Regions from separate parts of the Homo sapiens genome. Here region 2 is linked to region 1. Evidence: promoter capture Hi-C in human tissues and cell types (Jung and others, 2019). All regions are on one chromosome and are shown on one strand. The core of a region is centred on a gene start or on the middle of the fragment in contact, and the rest is flanking DNA. Distances in the headings are between cores, read along the strand shown.

Region 1 (6,061 bases), core at 2,570-5,069:
CAGGTCCACACTCTAGCTTCAGCCTTCTTCCTAAATCACTGAGTGGCCTTGGGCAAGGCCAGACCCTCTCTGGGAAGCAGAAAGGAGATTTTTCCCCTGCCTCCTGGGCAGAGATTCTGGAGAGCACTAGTGTGTCTGGGTGAGAAGGAACTCTGTAGCTCTACAGTGCCGGGTTCTGTCTGGAAGCCTTCTTGGGGCCTATGACCCTGCTATGGTTTGAATGTTTGTCCCCTCCCACGCTCACGTTGAAATGCGATTGCCACTGTAACAGTATAAGATTAGACCCTAAGAGGTGGTCAGGCCACGAGGGCTCTGCCCTCCTGCGTGGACTCAGGCCGTTATCTTGGGAGTGGGTTCGCTCTCTCCCCTCACTCCTGTCACTCTGTCCTCTGTCATGGGAAGATGCAGAAGGGTCCTCACTGGGCTCTGGGCCCTCCACTATGGACTTCCCAGCCTCCAGAGCTCTGAGCCAATACATTTCTGTTTATTATAACTTACCCCGTCTCAGGGATCTTGCTAGAGCAGCAAAAACAGACTCAGACAGACCCTCACCCCCAGGAGCCTGCTCCCAACCGGGGCCCAAAAGAAAACAAGCCAGCGAGGGCACTGCGGAATGCAGGGTTTTGGCGACAGAGCTACAGGAGTGTGCCTTGGCCCCCACAAGGGCCACAGTCCTGCCCCCACCTGGTCTCCCGGGGCTCAGACAGCAGCCGCCAGCCCACGGAGGTAGTCCCCCGCCAGGGGCAGCACGGCCCAGTCATCGGTCCGCAGGGCCACAGGCACTCCATCTGCCAGGGCCGCCTCCAGCCGCAGCAGCAGCTTTGAGTCCGGGGGCAGGTGGATTGCTACACAGTAGCTGGTAGGAGGCTGGGCCACCACCACAAAAGGCTCCAGGTGGCGGGACACCAAGCCCTCCAGGCCCTGTGGCCCAAGTGGACACCACACACGACTCTCAGCACCCTCTGGCAGGCAGGAATCCCAGAGCTCCTCAAAGAAGCCCAGCCCGGCCCCCTCTGGAGGCTGCGGGAAAGGCAGAAAGAGGTCGGCAAAGTTCACGAACAGGGGTGGCAAGTGGGCATGGCACGTGAGACCAGTGGATGTGGTGTAAAGGGCATGGACATCCAGCCGTGCGGGGGCCGGGCATCGGGGCTGCAGAGGCAGGAGCAGAGGGCGGGCAGGGCGGCCAGGACACAGGCAGGGCACATGGACAGCCTCCAGGGGTGCATACAGCTGTCCTTCCACACGGAAGCGCAGCTCCAGAGAGTAGATGGGCTCCAGCGCCTCCGGCTGGAGCTTCAACACTGGGAGTGGGCCCTTGACCCGATGGGACCCCAGGCTCAGCCGTACCAGGGCCGGTGCCTCCTGCACCATCAGTGCTGCCACAAAGCCCTGGTTCTCGGCCACCAGTGAAGAGGCCAGTGCAGGTGCGGCAAGCGAGGGGCCCAGGGCCACCCCCAACTTGGGTGCTGCCAGGTGTGCCAGCAGGATGTAGTAGAGGCGGGCGTGGTCACGCCCATCAGGGTCCTCCAGCTGCCTGGCCAGCACCTGCAGCAAGTCGACCAGGCCGCCCCTCACCCCTGCCCGCAGCAGCGCCCGGCAGACCCGCAGCAGGCCCTGCTGTAGGTCCCAGTTCGTGCAGTGGGCAGCCGCGGCCTGTAGAAAGTTGAGGGTAGCACTCTGGGCATCTCCATCTGCCACCTTTGCCAGCATTTGCAGGTGCCAGCAAAGAGCTTCATCCCTGCCCGGCCTGGACACCACCACCTGCCGCAACACCACCTTCAGGGGCTCCCTCAGCTCAGAGTCCACCTGATCCAAGAGGTCCACAAAGTGGGGAGCCAGCATGGGCCGGGCTTGGTACAGCTGGGCCAGTCCGTGGATCAAGGGGGTCAGCACCGTAGGTTGCCCAGCCAGGCAGCAGGCCACCAGATACGAGGCCTGGAAGCAGAGAGTGGCCAAGGCCCGGGGGCCCCCATCCAGGGCTGCCCGCTGCCGCAAGCCAGCCAGCAGCTCTTCCAGGTAGTGCCGTGGGCTTGGAAGCTGGCCTTTCTCCTCTTCTTCCTCCTCGGCACAGAGCAGGCACAGTAAATGCAGGCGGGCCAGGAGGGCCATTGGGTCATGCAGGAGACTGGGCAGGAGACCACGGCATAGCTGGGGCCCTAGCAGCAGTGGGGCAGCCTCCTCACCTTCAGGGCCCAGCGGCCAGTTCTCAGGGAAGCTCAGGACGCAGTGAAGGTAAAAGAGATGGGTGGGCGGAGGCAGAGCAGGGTGCTGGGCAGCCAAGGTGAGCCGGCGGAGCAGCAACGCTTCATCCTGGGCTGTGAACAAGGCCTCACCAAAGGCCGCCTTGAGCGCAAGCATGGCGTGCAACAGTGTCAGCTGTGCTGTGCCTAGCAGCCGTACCAGCTGCGGCTTGAAGAGTGCCGGTGGCTGTCCCTGCAGACCCCGCAGGGCCCAGCCCAGCAGCCACAGGAGCTGGGCCTGGGCCACAGGAGTGAGCAGATAGGAGGTGTCCAGAAGCTGGATCACCGCAGCCCGCAGCTCCCGCGCCTCCTCAGGGCTGTGCTCTCGTGCTGTAAGGCTACGCTCCCCCTCTCCCTCCTCAGCTGCCGGCCAGCTGGGTGCCTGGGGCTGAAGGCGTCCATCGCCCTCCTCCACTAGTGTCCAATCCCAGGGACCACCCCCAGTTGGGGAGACCTTATCCGTGAGCAGTCCCCCCAGGCCAGCCCCAACCCGGGACTGGAGCACCAAGGTGTTGCGCAAAGCGAGGGCCAGCAACAGGCTGAGTGGCTGGACAGGGCCTTCCTGCCCCAGCAGGCCCCGCAGCAACCCCAGGGAGCCCCCCAGCAGCCCGGGCTTGCAGCTCTCTAGCTCTCGCAGGCACTCGCAGGCCGTGGCCTGCAAGGGGCGCTGTTCCGAGGCGGGGACAAAGCCTCGCCCCAGATCGCTACCCGCGGCCAGGCCGAGCAGTAGGGGCAGGAGCCGGCAGGAGGCGCCCGAGGTGGGGCCCAGCGCGCCGCCCGCCGCCAGGGCAGTGGTGGCCGCCAGCAGCAGTGGCCGACGGAGAGCTGAGGGCCGCGGGGGTAGGAGGACCAAGGTGTCCAACAGGGAGGTGGCGGCCACTTCGGCCGCAGAGGCGTCGGGCCACAGCTGCGCAGGGTACTCCATGCTCAGGGCCAGCAGGGAAACCTGGATGGGGGATTAGGAGGGAATCACGAAGATGAGGTTCATGACGCGGCGGGCTGGGGTGACCCTGCGGAACGGCGCAGGGGACGCGTGGGGGCCTACCTTGGTCTGTTCGCTCAGCTTCTCACTTCTCAGGTCGCTCAGCAGGTCGCGACCCAAATCCTCCCCCTCGGGACCTGCCATGAAGGCAGACGGGCTGGCCCGGAAGGCCCCCAAGCGCTGGGCCCAGGCGTCCCGGCTCAGGGGCCCCATGGTGAGGCGCGCGGGCCCCTGCGCAGGGAAGAGGGACCCTCAGGCCGCAGCCACCGGGAGCGCGGGGCCCGCTGCCGACCCCGAGGGGCTGCGGTCACCCCCAGACGCCGCGCAGATGCCGGCGGGACCCGCGCCCGGCTCCCACGGTGAGACCAGGGCTCTCGGGGCCGACGCCAGAGCTGGGCGCCGGGGCCCTCGCGGGACAGGACAGGAGCAGGGCGGGGGAGGGTGCGTGCCGAGAGCTCGTTAGGCCGCCTCCCTCCCGCCCGCGGCCCGCACCGAAACCACAGCGCCACCCCGGCCCCCGGCGCCGGCGGTAACGGGCCGCGCTCGCCGCCTGACTCAGCCGCCGCGGGCACTCAGGCCGGCCGGCTCCTTCCGGGCTGGCGGCGCGGGGCGGGGCGCGGCGCGGGGGCGGCCGAGTCCGGGCGGGGAGGGGCGGGGCGTAACGGGGCCACCGCCTCCCGCAGGTGTCGACTCGCAGGTTTCGCGGGGGCTGACTAACTGTCCCGCCGCGCAGGCCCCCTTCCCCGAAACCGCCGCAGGCCGGGGCAGGAAAGGCGGAGGGGAGTGGGTAGGGGTGGCGGAGCGGGGTGGGCCTGGGCCCCAGATGCCGGGTACCGCGGCGCAGGGCTGCGATCCCGCGGCCCTCGGCGGACAGCGGCCCGGTCCCACCAGCGCCCGCCAAGCCGCGCAGGGCGGCAGCCAGCGCGCCCCCCGCCGGCGCCCGGGCACACCGCACCCTGCGCCAGACGCGCGGCCCCGGGGGGCGTGGGTGCGGGTCCTGGGGCTCCCGGAGTGGCCCCTGGGGGTGACCAAGGTGCGGTCGCAGGGCGCCCGCAGGAAAAGCGCCCCAGCTGAACCGGTCCGGCGGGCGCCGCAGGGCTTGGCTTCGCTTCCCTGACGCCTGCCCGGGCCCCCAGCCCGCTCGGCTTGGGGGCGAGGAGCCGGCGCCGCGGTTGCGGCCAGCCAGGAGCTTCTGACCTTTGTTTGCCCGAGGCCGCGCTGGCGGCCCGCAGGGGTCGTGACGGCGAGGGCGGGGCAGGGCCCTAAGTCGAAAACAACGGGATCCATACTCGGGAAGTGCGGGCTGTCAGGGCCTGGCCGGTCACGGGGCTCGAGGCATGCCTAGCGATGGGGAAAACAGGCCCAGGAGGAGGGCGGCCTTGCCAACCGAGATCTGGGGCCAAGCCGGGCCGGAACCCAGCACTCCAGACTTCAGTGGGCTGGATTCTGGCTGTTTGGGGGCATTCGGGGGTCTGGGCGGCGGTCTCTCCCAGGCCAGAGGCCCAGGTTGCAGGTGCCCCACAGACCACCGGTTTCCAGGGCACAGAACCGCCGGCGCCCAAACCTCACCACCCCTCTGGCTCCAATTAGCCGCTTTGAAGATGAAACAGGCCTGAGCCCCCATGCAAGCCAGTGCCAGCTGGCCTCTCCCTACCCCATCCTGCTCCAGATGGGAGGTGGTGGAGAGTTGAGGGGTGGAGAGTGCCAAAAAGGAGGCTGTCTGGGTGCCCTTGGGGATGGAGAGATAGAGACCCACTCGGAGGGACAGGTCCAGCCAGAAGGCCCGGTCCCGGCTCCTCTAGGCCCTGGCTCCACAGTTGACTCACAGGCAGCAGCCCCAAACTACTTCCCTCTAGGTGCCTCAGTTTCCCCATCTATAAAATGGGAGTGATAACTCCCACCCAAGAGGCTGTGGGGTGAGGCAGCCTGGCTAATTAAACCCAAGATGAAAGAGGCAGGATGAGAGCAGCCCTGGGGAGGGGAGGCAGCCTGCAGTAGGAGCCAGTCTGGTTTCTCTGTCTGAGCCCAGAGGGTGCTGGTAACTGCACATCCCCGGCCCTCACCACCCTCACGGTGAGGCAGGAATGATCATTAAACTTCTTGCAGAGTTGAGAAGACAGGTTTCCAAGGATCAGGGGGCCTGACACTGGCTCTGGCCCCGGCTCAGCCTCTGACAGCGTGGCCTCTGCACACCTCCTGCCTGAGTCTTGACTCCTTGAGGCTGAGGGTCTGGAGGGAGGGAACCCACTTGTGGTCTCCAATACTGCAGTGGACGAATCCGCATGGACTTACTGAGGCTCACAGCAACCCCAGGTACCGAGAGTGGGTATCAGATGAGGAAAGGGAAGCCCACAGAGGTACGGTCTCTCAGTCACAGAGCCCCTCAGAGGTGGAGCCTCGACTTCCACAAACAGCCCCTTGTTGCATCTGACCTGGTCCTCCCCCCACACCAGGTACCCTCGGCCCTCTTGGGTGTCCAGGTCCCTGGATGGGCCCTGTTCTCACCTGTCTGCTCCCCTATTGGCGGGTGGTGCTGGCTCTGTCCCTGGCAAGGCCAGGCATGGAGCTGAGCTCAGACTGTCACCGGACTCACCCGGGACAGCAACATCCCAGTCGAGGGCCCAGGTGTGGGCCACTGCCGGATGCTGAGCTGGGAATTCCCCACTCCACGCCCTCCCTCATTTCTTCTCCTGCTGAGTTTCTGTCCTCCCCATGCAGCCCAGTTGTGGGCAGACACTAAACACAAGGCTTGTAAAAGGGAAAGTCAGCTTCCCAAGGGGTCCTGAGCCTCAGTTTTCTCATCTGTAAAATCGGGCTACAACAAACACACTCTCGCAGC
Region 2 (6,061 bases), core at 1,777-4,276, 69 kb before region 1:
CTGGAGTGCACTGGCACAATCTTGGCTCACTGCAACCTCTGCCTCCTGGGTTCAAGCGATTCTCCCGCCTCAGCCTCCTGAATAGCTAGGACTACAGGCAGATGCCACCACGCCCAGCTAATTTTTGTATTTTTAGTAGAGATGTGGTTTCACTATATTGGCCAGGCTGGTCTCGAACTCCTGCCTTGACCTCCCAAAGTGCTGGGATTACAGGAGCGAGCCACTGCGCACGGCCTCTTTTTTTTCCTTCTGAGACACAGTCTTGTTCTGTTGCCCAGGCTGGAGTGCAGTGGCACGATCTTGGCTGACTGAGTAGCTGGGATTACAGGCGGATGCCACCGTGCCCAGCTAACTTTTGTATTTTTAGTAGAGACGGTGTTTTACCATGTTGGCCAGGCTGGTCTTGAACGCCTGACCTCAAGTTGTCCGCCTGCCTCGGTGTCAGAGTTGCATGAACCAGAGCAACTCTATCTTGAATAGAAGCTGGGTAAAATGAGGCCGAGACCTACTAGGCTGCATTCCCAGACGGTTAAGACATTCTAAGTCACAAGATAAGATAGGTCGGTACAAGATACAGGTCATAAAGACCTTGCTGATAAAACAGGTTGCAGTAAGAAAGCCAACTAAAACCCACCAAAACCAAGACGGCCACCAGAGTGACCTCTGGTTGTCCTCACTGCTGCACTCCTACCAGTGCCATGGCAACGGCAGGAAGTTACCGAATATGGTCTAAAAAGGGGAGGCATGAATAATCCGCCCCTTGCTTAGCAGATCATCAAGAAATAACCAGAAAAATGGGCAACCAGCATTGAGTTCCTTTACTTTCCTAACAAACTTGCTTTCACTTTATGGCCTCGCCCTCAATTCTTTTTTTTTTTTTTTGAGACGGAGTCTTGTTCTGTTCCCAGGCTGGAGTGCAGTGGCCTGATCTTGGCTCACTGCAACCTCCGCCTCCTGGGTTCAAGCAATTCTCCAGCCTCAGCCTCCCGAGTAGCTGGGATTACAGGCGCGCACCACCACGCCTGCCTAATTTTTGTATTTTTAGTAGAGATGGGGTTTCATCATGTTGGTCAGGCTGGTCTCGAACTCCTGACCTCAGGTTATCCACCTGCCTGGCCTCCCAAAGTGCTGGACTCGCCCTGAATTCTTTATTGCACGAGATCCAAGAACCCTCTCTTGGGGTCTGGATGGGGACCCCTTTCCTGTAACACTGGGATTATAGGCGTAAGCCACCATGTTCAGCCACCTTTGAGGCAGGAAAATAGGGTCTGGAGGCAGGGAACATATAAGGCTGATTCACACTTCAGTTATGACAGGAAATATCCTCTCCTTAGGGAGTACACCCTAAATGACTTTGTAACTTTACTTCATCCTCTTCATTTACATATGGCATATCCCAAATAACCAATGGAATCCTCCAAAGGGTATTTAAACTCCAACAAATTCTGTAACTGGGCCCTTGAGCACCTATGCTCAGCCGGCCCCAACACTGGAGTGTACTTTCATTTTCAATAAATCGTTCATTCCTTCCTTGCTTTGTGCATTTTGTCCAATTCTTTTTTTTTTTCTTTTTCTTTGAGACAGAGTCTTGCTCTGTCTGGAGTGCAGTGGCGCAATCTCGGCTCACTGCAAGCTCTGCCTCCCGGGTTCACGCCACTCTCCTGCCTCTGCCTCCCGAGTAGCTGGGACTACAGGCGCCTGCCACCACGCCCAGCTAATTTTTTGTATTTATTTTTAGTAGAGACAGGGTTTCACCGTGTTGGCCAGGATGGTCTCAATCTCCTGACCTCGTGATCCGCCCGCCTCGGCCTCCCAAAGTGCTGGGATTATAGGCGTGAGCCACCGCGCCCAGCCGTTTTGTCCCATTATTTTAGATGCCAAGAACCTGTACACCCTCCACCGGTGACACCTTCACAGTTTTGAGGAGTATTCATGGGGTATTTTGTAAAATGTTTCTCAATTGGGATTTGTCTGATGTTTTTCTCATGATTAGACTGGAGGCAGCTGGGATTACAGGTGTGAGCCACCATGCCCAGTCTCCAAACCCTGTTTACACAAAAATTTTAAAAAACTAGCCAGGCTTGGTGGTGCGCGCCTGTAGTCCCAGCTACTAGAGAGCCTGAGGTGGATCACTTGATCCCGGGAGGGGGAGGCTGCAGTGAGCGGAGATTGTGCCTCGCTGGCTGCACTCCAGCCCGGGCGAGAGAGCCAGACCTTGTCTCAAAAAAAAAAAAAAAAAAAAAAAAAGCCTAATATGGCTGAGGGCGGTGGCTCACGCCTGTAATCCCAGTACTTTGTGAGGCCGAGGCGGGCGGATCACGAGGTCAAGAGCTCTAGACCATCCTGGCCAACATGGTGAAACCCCGCCCGTACTAAAAATACAAAAATTAGTTGGGTACTCGGGAGGCTGAGGCAGGAGAATCGCTTGAACCCGGGAGGCGGGGGTTACAGGGAGCTGAGATCGCGCCACTGCACTCCAGCCTGGCGACAGAGCGAGACTCCGTCTCAAAAATAAATATATACAAATTAAAAAAGCCTAATATACAAAATAAAGCTAGGAATCTTCCCTGAGTCCTCTTGCCTACGGAATGAAGTCCACAGACTTGGGGGAGCGTTCGAACCCTTCTAAGGCCACTTCCTTTCTCCAGCCTCTCGCGCCCAGTTGACTCCCGGCAACACCTCCCGCCGCCACAAGGAGACGCCCGAGGACTTCCCTCCGACAAAGCCAAAAACGGTATTGCCACGTGACCCGCTCCGCATACACGTGACCAGCTTCGCACCCGGTGGGCGTCACGTGACGGACTCAGTAGACCGCCACTGGCTGTGCACGTTATGGGGTTTCCACCTAGGGCTCGGCCTGAGGCTTGTAACACTCCGTTTTCCCCCGAGTCACAGGGGCAGTCTTGCCCCTCGCAGCTGGGTCGCGGTGTCTCTCAAAGGTCCCCCTCTACAGGGGCTTCGTGAGGCCCGGGCCCACAGGGCGCTCGGTCCCGGAAGTGACGTCTCCCAGAGGGGCCGGAAGTGGCAGTGGAGGGAGGGAAGATGGCGGAGGTGGTGAGTCCGGTGCCCGGGGCGGGGCGGAGGGAGCCAGGGGAGGTGGGTAGAGCCCGAGGCCCCCCAGTAGCCGACCCTGGCGTCGCGCTGTCTCCCCAGGGGGAGATAATCGAGGGCTGCCGCCTACCCGTGCTGCGGCGGAACCAGGACAACGAAGATGAGTGGCGTGAGTGACGTTGGGGGGCGGGACTAAGGAACCTGAGGGCGAGGGGCGGGAGTCAACTGAAATCCCGGGATGGGGAGGGGCGTCTGGAATTATGGGGCGGGCGAGGCGCAGATACTTTGATGAAGGGGCGTGGCTCTTAGCTGCTCCGAGAGGTACAGGGCGGGGCCTGGAAAGGGGTGGCACTTGTGACTGAAGGAGGCTTAGGAGAGACCTAAGTGCTGGAGCTTAGGGATCCGGCCTGGGGGTGGAGTTCAGGTCGTGGAAGGGTGGAGTCTCATAGCCTGGCCTGTCTAAGGCCCCTGTCTATGCTATTCTCATAGCCCTGGCCGAGATCCTGAGCGTGAAGGACATCAGTGGCCGGAAGCTTTTCTACGTCCATTACATTGACTGTGAGTTCTGGGCCTGAGGTGGGGCATCAGGGTAGGGTTGGGGGACAGTCTTTGGCATTCTGTCCTGAGCCATCCCCACTGCTACAGTCAACAAACGTCTGGATGAATGGGTGACGCATGAGCGGCTGGACCTAAAGAAGATCCAGTTCCCCAAGAAAGAGGCCAAGACCCCCACTAAGAACGGACTTCCTGGGTCCCGTCCTGGCTCTCCAGAGAGAGAGGTGGTGAGTAGGTCCCCCACTTCACCTTTTCTCTCCTGCCTCCTATTTCTCTTGTCTGTTGGCATTAGGAGCTCCTGGATGGGCAGGAGGCGGCTCCCTCTCACCCTGACTTCATCTTGCAAAGGATGGGGGCCAAATTGCACATGTAGCTCCCAGAGTCCAGTAGCTAGTCCTGTGTCCTTCAGAAGGCGAGGGTGGGGTTTGATAATTTTGAGGTGAGGGACCCCTCTTCCCCTTCCCCATCCCACTGCCATCCCCGCCCCAAAGGAAGACCCTGGACCTATCTCTACAGCCGGCCTCGGCGCAGGCCAGCGGGAAGACCTTGCCAATCCCGGTCCAGATCACACTCCGCTTCAACCTGCCCAAGGAGCGGGAGGCCATTCCCGGTGGCGAGCCTGACCAGCCGCTCTCCTCCAGCTCCTGCCTGCAGCCCAACCACCGCTCAACGGTACCCTCAGCAATTCCAGGGACCTTGCTTTCTTCTCAGGTCCCACCTTCTCTACCTTCTGACCCACCTTTGTTGGTTTCTCTCTGCAGAAACGGAAGGTGGAGGTGGTTTCACCAGCAACTCCAGTGCCCAGCGAGACAGCCCCGGCCTCGGTTTTTCCCCAGGTGAGTTCCCCAAACCATCTCTTGTTCTCTTCCTCTCTTCTACTCTCTGGTGGCTTTTTTCAGGCTCATTTCACAGCCATCCCTTCTTTTCCTACTATCTCGGCAGAATGGAGCCGCCCGTAGGGCAGTGGCAGCCCAGCCAGGACGGAAGCGAAAATCGAATTGTTTGGGCACTGATGAGGTGGGTCTGGGGAGCAGCAGAAGGGAACTGGGTGAAAAGGAAGGGATGCAGGCAGGGTGGAGAGTTATTTAGTGATGAGTTTAAAAATAAAGAAGGGGTGGTGGGCAGAGCTAGTGTTGGTGGGATTAGGAGACAGGCAGAACATTGTTCAAATGAGTCATTGGGGCCGGGCACCATGGCTCATACCTGTAATCCCAGCACTTTGGGAGTCCAACCAAGGCTGGTGGATCACCTGAGGTCAGGAGTTTGAGACCAGCCTGGCCAACATGGTGAAACCTTGTTTCTACTAGAAATACAAAAATTAGCCAGGCGTGGTGGCGGGTGCCTGTAATCCAGCTCGGAAAGCTGAGGCAGGAGAACTGCTTGAACCCCGGAGGTGGAGATTGCAGTGAGCCAAGATCGCGCTACTGCCCTCCAGCCTGGGCGACAGACTGAGACTCCATCTAAAAAATGGGGTCATTGGGTGATCTTTTCCACATCATCGATCCTTTAGGGTTTCAGGTTTTTTATCTGGAAATTGGGGATCATGGTACCTCCCCCTTAGGGTTGCTGTTAGGCTTGAAGGAAACCTGTCAAAGGGCTGTGAGCTGTGGTGTCCTGCTGAGCTGTCTCTTACAACCTGGTATTTTCCACTGGCCCTGGGCAGGACTCCCAGGACAGCTCTGATGGAATACCGTCAGCACCACGCATGACTGGCAGCCTGGTGTCTGATCGAAGCCACGACGACATCGTCACCCGGATGAAGAACATTGAGTGCATTGAGCTGGGCCGGCACCGCCTCAAGCCGTGGTACTTCTCCCCGTACCCACAGGAACTCACCACATTGCCTGTCCTCTACCTGTGCGAGTTCTGCCTCAAGTACGGCCGTAGTCTCAAGTGTCTTCAGCGTCATTTGGTATGAGGGGTCCAGGGAGGCTGCCTTCCCAGCACCCTCCACGTTGCCCTTGTTCCTGATCCTCCTCTCTTCCCCAGACCAAGTGTGACCTACGACATCCTCCAGGCAATGAGATTTACCGCAAGGGCACCATCTCCTTCTTTGAGATTGATGGACGTAAGAACAAGGTTAGTGCTTGAGAGGCAGTGAGGCGCTGGGGTGAATCAAATGACAGCTTCTTCTTGCTCAGGTAAACACTGACCAGTCAAGCCAGCAGATCAGTCCAGCCCATTTTTATTGAGTTCCTGCTGTCTGGCAGGTGCTGGTAGCCAGGAATGAGACAGTCTCTGTTCTCTGACAGCTTAGTCCATGGGAGAGACAGTCATACCAATGACCTCTAGCTCCCAGTGTCCTAAGTGTCATGAAACAGAGGGTAGGTTAGCAGGACCCAAAGGAGGTGGTCAGCAGAGCTTCATAGAGGGTTACCTTTCAGCCTTGGTGGATGACAAAGTGGCTGAGGGGATTTCTTGCAGTGGTGTTCTGAAGAGTAGGCATGGATGCACA

Evidence for each region. The method cuts DNA at HindIII sites, captures the fragments that hold promoters and counts their contacts. A contact is called where the count stands out against the background at its distance.
Region 2: the fragment with the promoter of KAT5 here is called in contact with the fragment with the promoter of AP5B1 in region 1 in 1 of the 25 tissues and cell types used here (spleen).

The regions. Positions count from the first base shown.
Region 1 is chr11:65,777,157-65,783,217 of GRCh38, forward strand. AP5B1 (adaptor related protein complex 5 subunit beta 1) reads right to left here and starts at 3,820. Exons shown (of 2, transcript NM_138368.5): 1 at 3,286-3,820; 2 at 1-3,186. The coding sequence starts at 3,435. The coding sequence ends at 700. RefSeq lists enhancers at 189-1,093, 2,902-3,804, 4,534-5,191 and silencers at 2,894-3,163, 3,314-3,493, 3,534-4,273. The HindIII fragment of the contact is 21,769 bases long and covers 1-6,061 here.
Region 2 is chr11:65,709,226-65,715,286 of GRCh38, forward strand. It overlaps KAT5 (lysine acetyltransferase 5), which reads left to right and starts at 3,027. Exons shown (of 13, transcript NM_182710.3): 1 at 3,027-3,220; 2 at 3,541-3,609; 3 at 3,697-3,833; 4 at 4,123-4,278; 5 at 4,368-4,442; 6 at 4,549-4,623; 7 at 5,270-5,518; 8 at 5,596-5,685. The coding sequence starts at 3,043. RefSeq lists enhancers at 2,583-2,702, 2,733-3,042 and silencers at 3,073-3,262, 3,273-3,352. The HindIII fragment of the contact is 8,771 bases long and covers 373-6,061 here.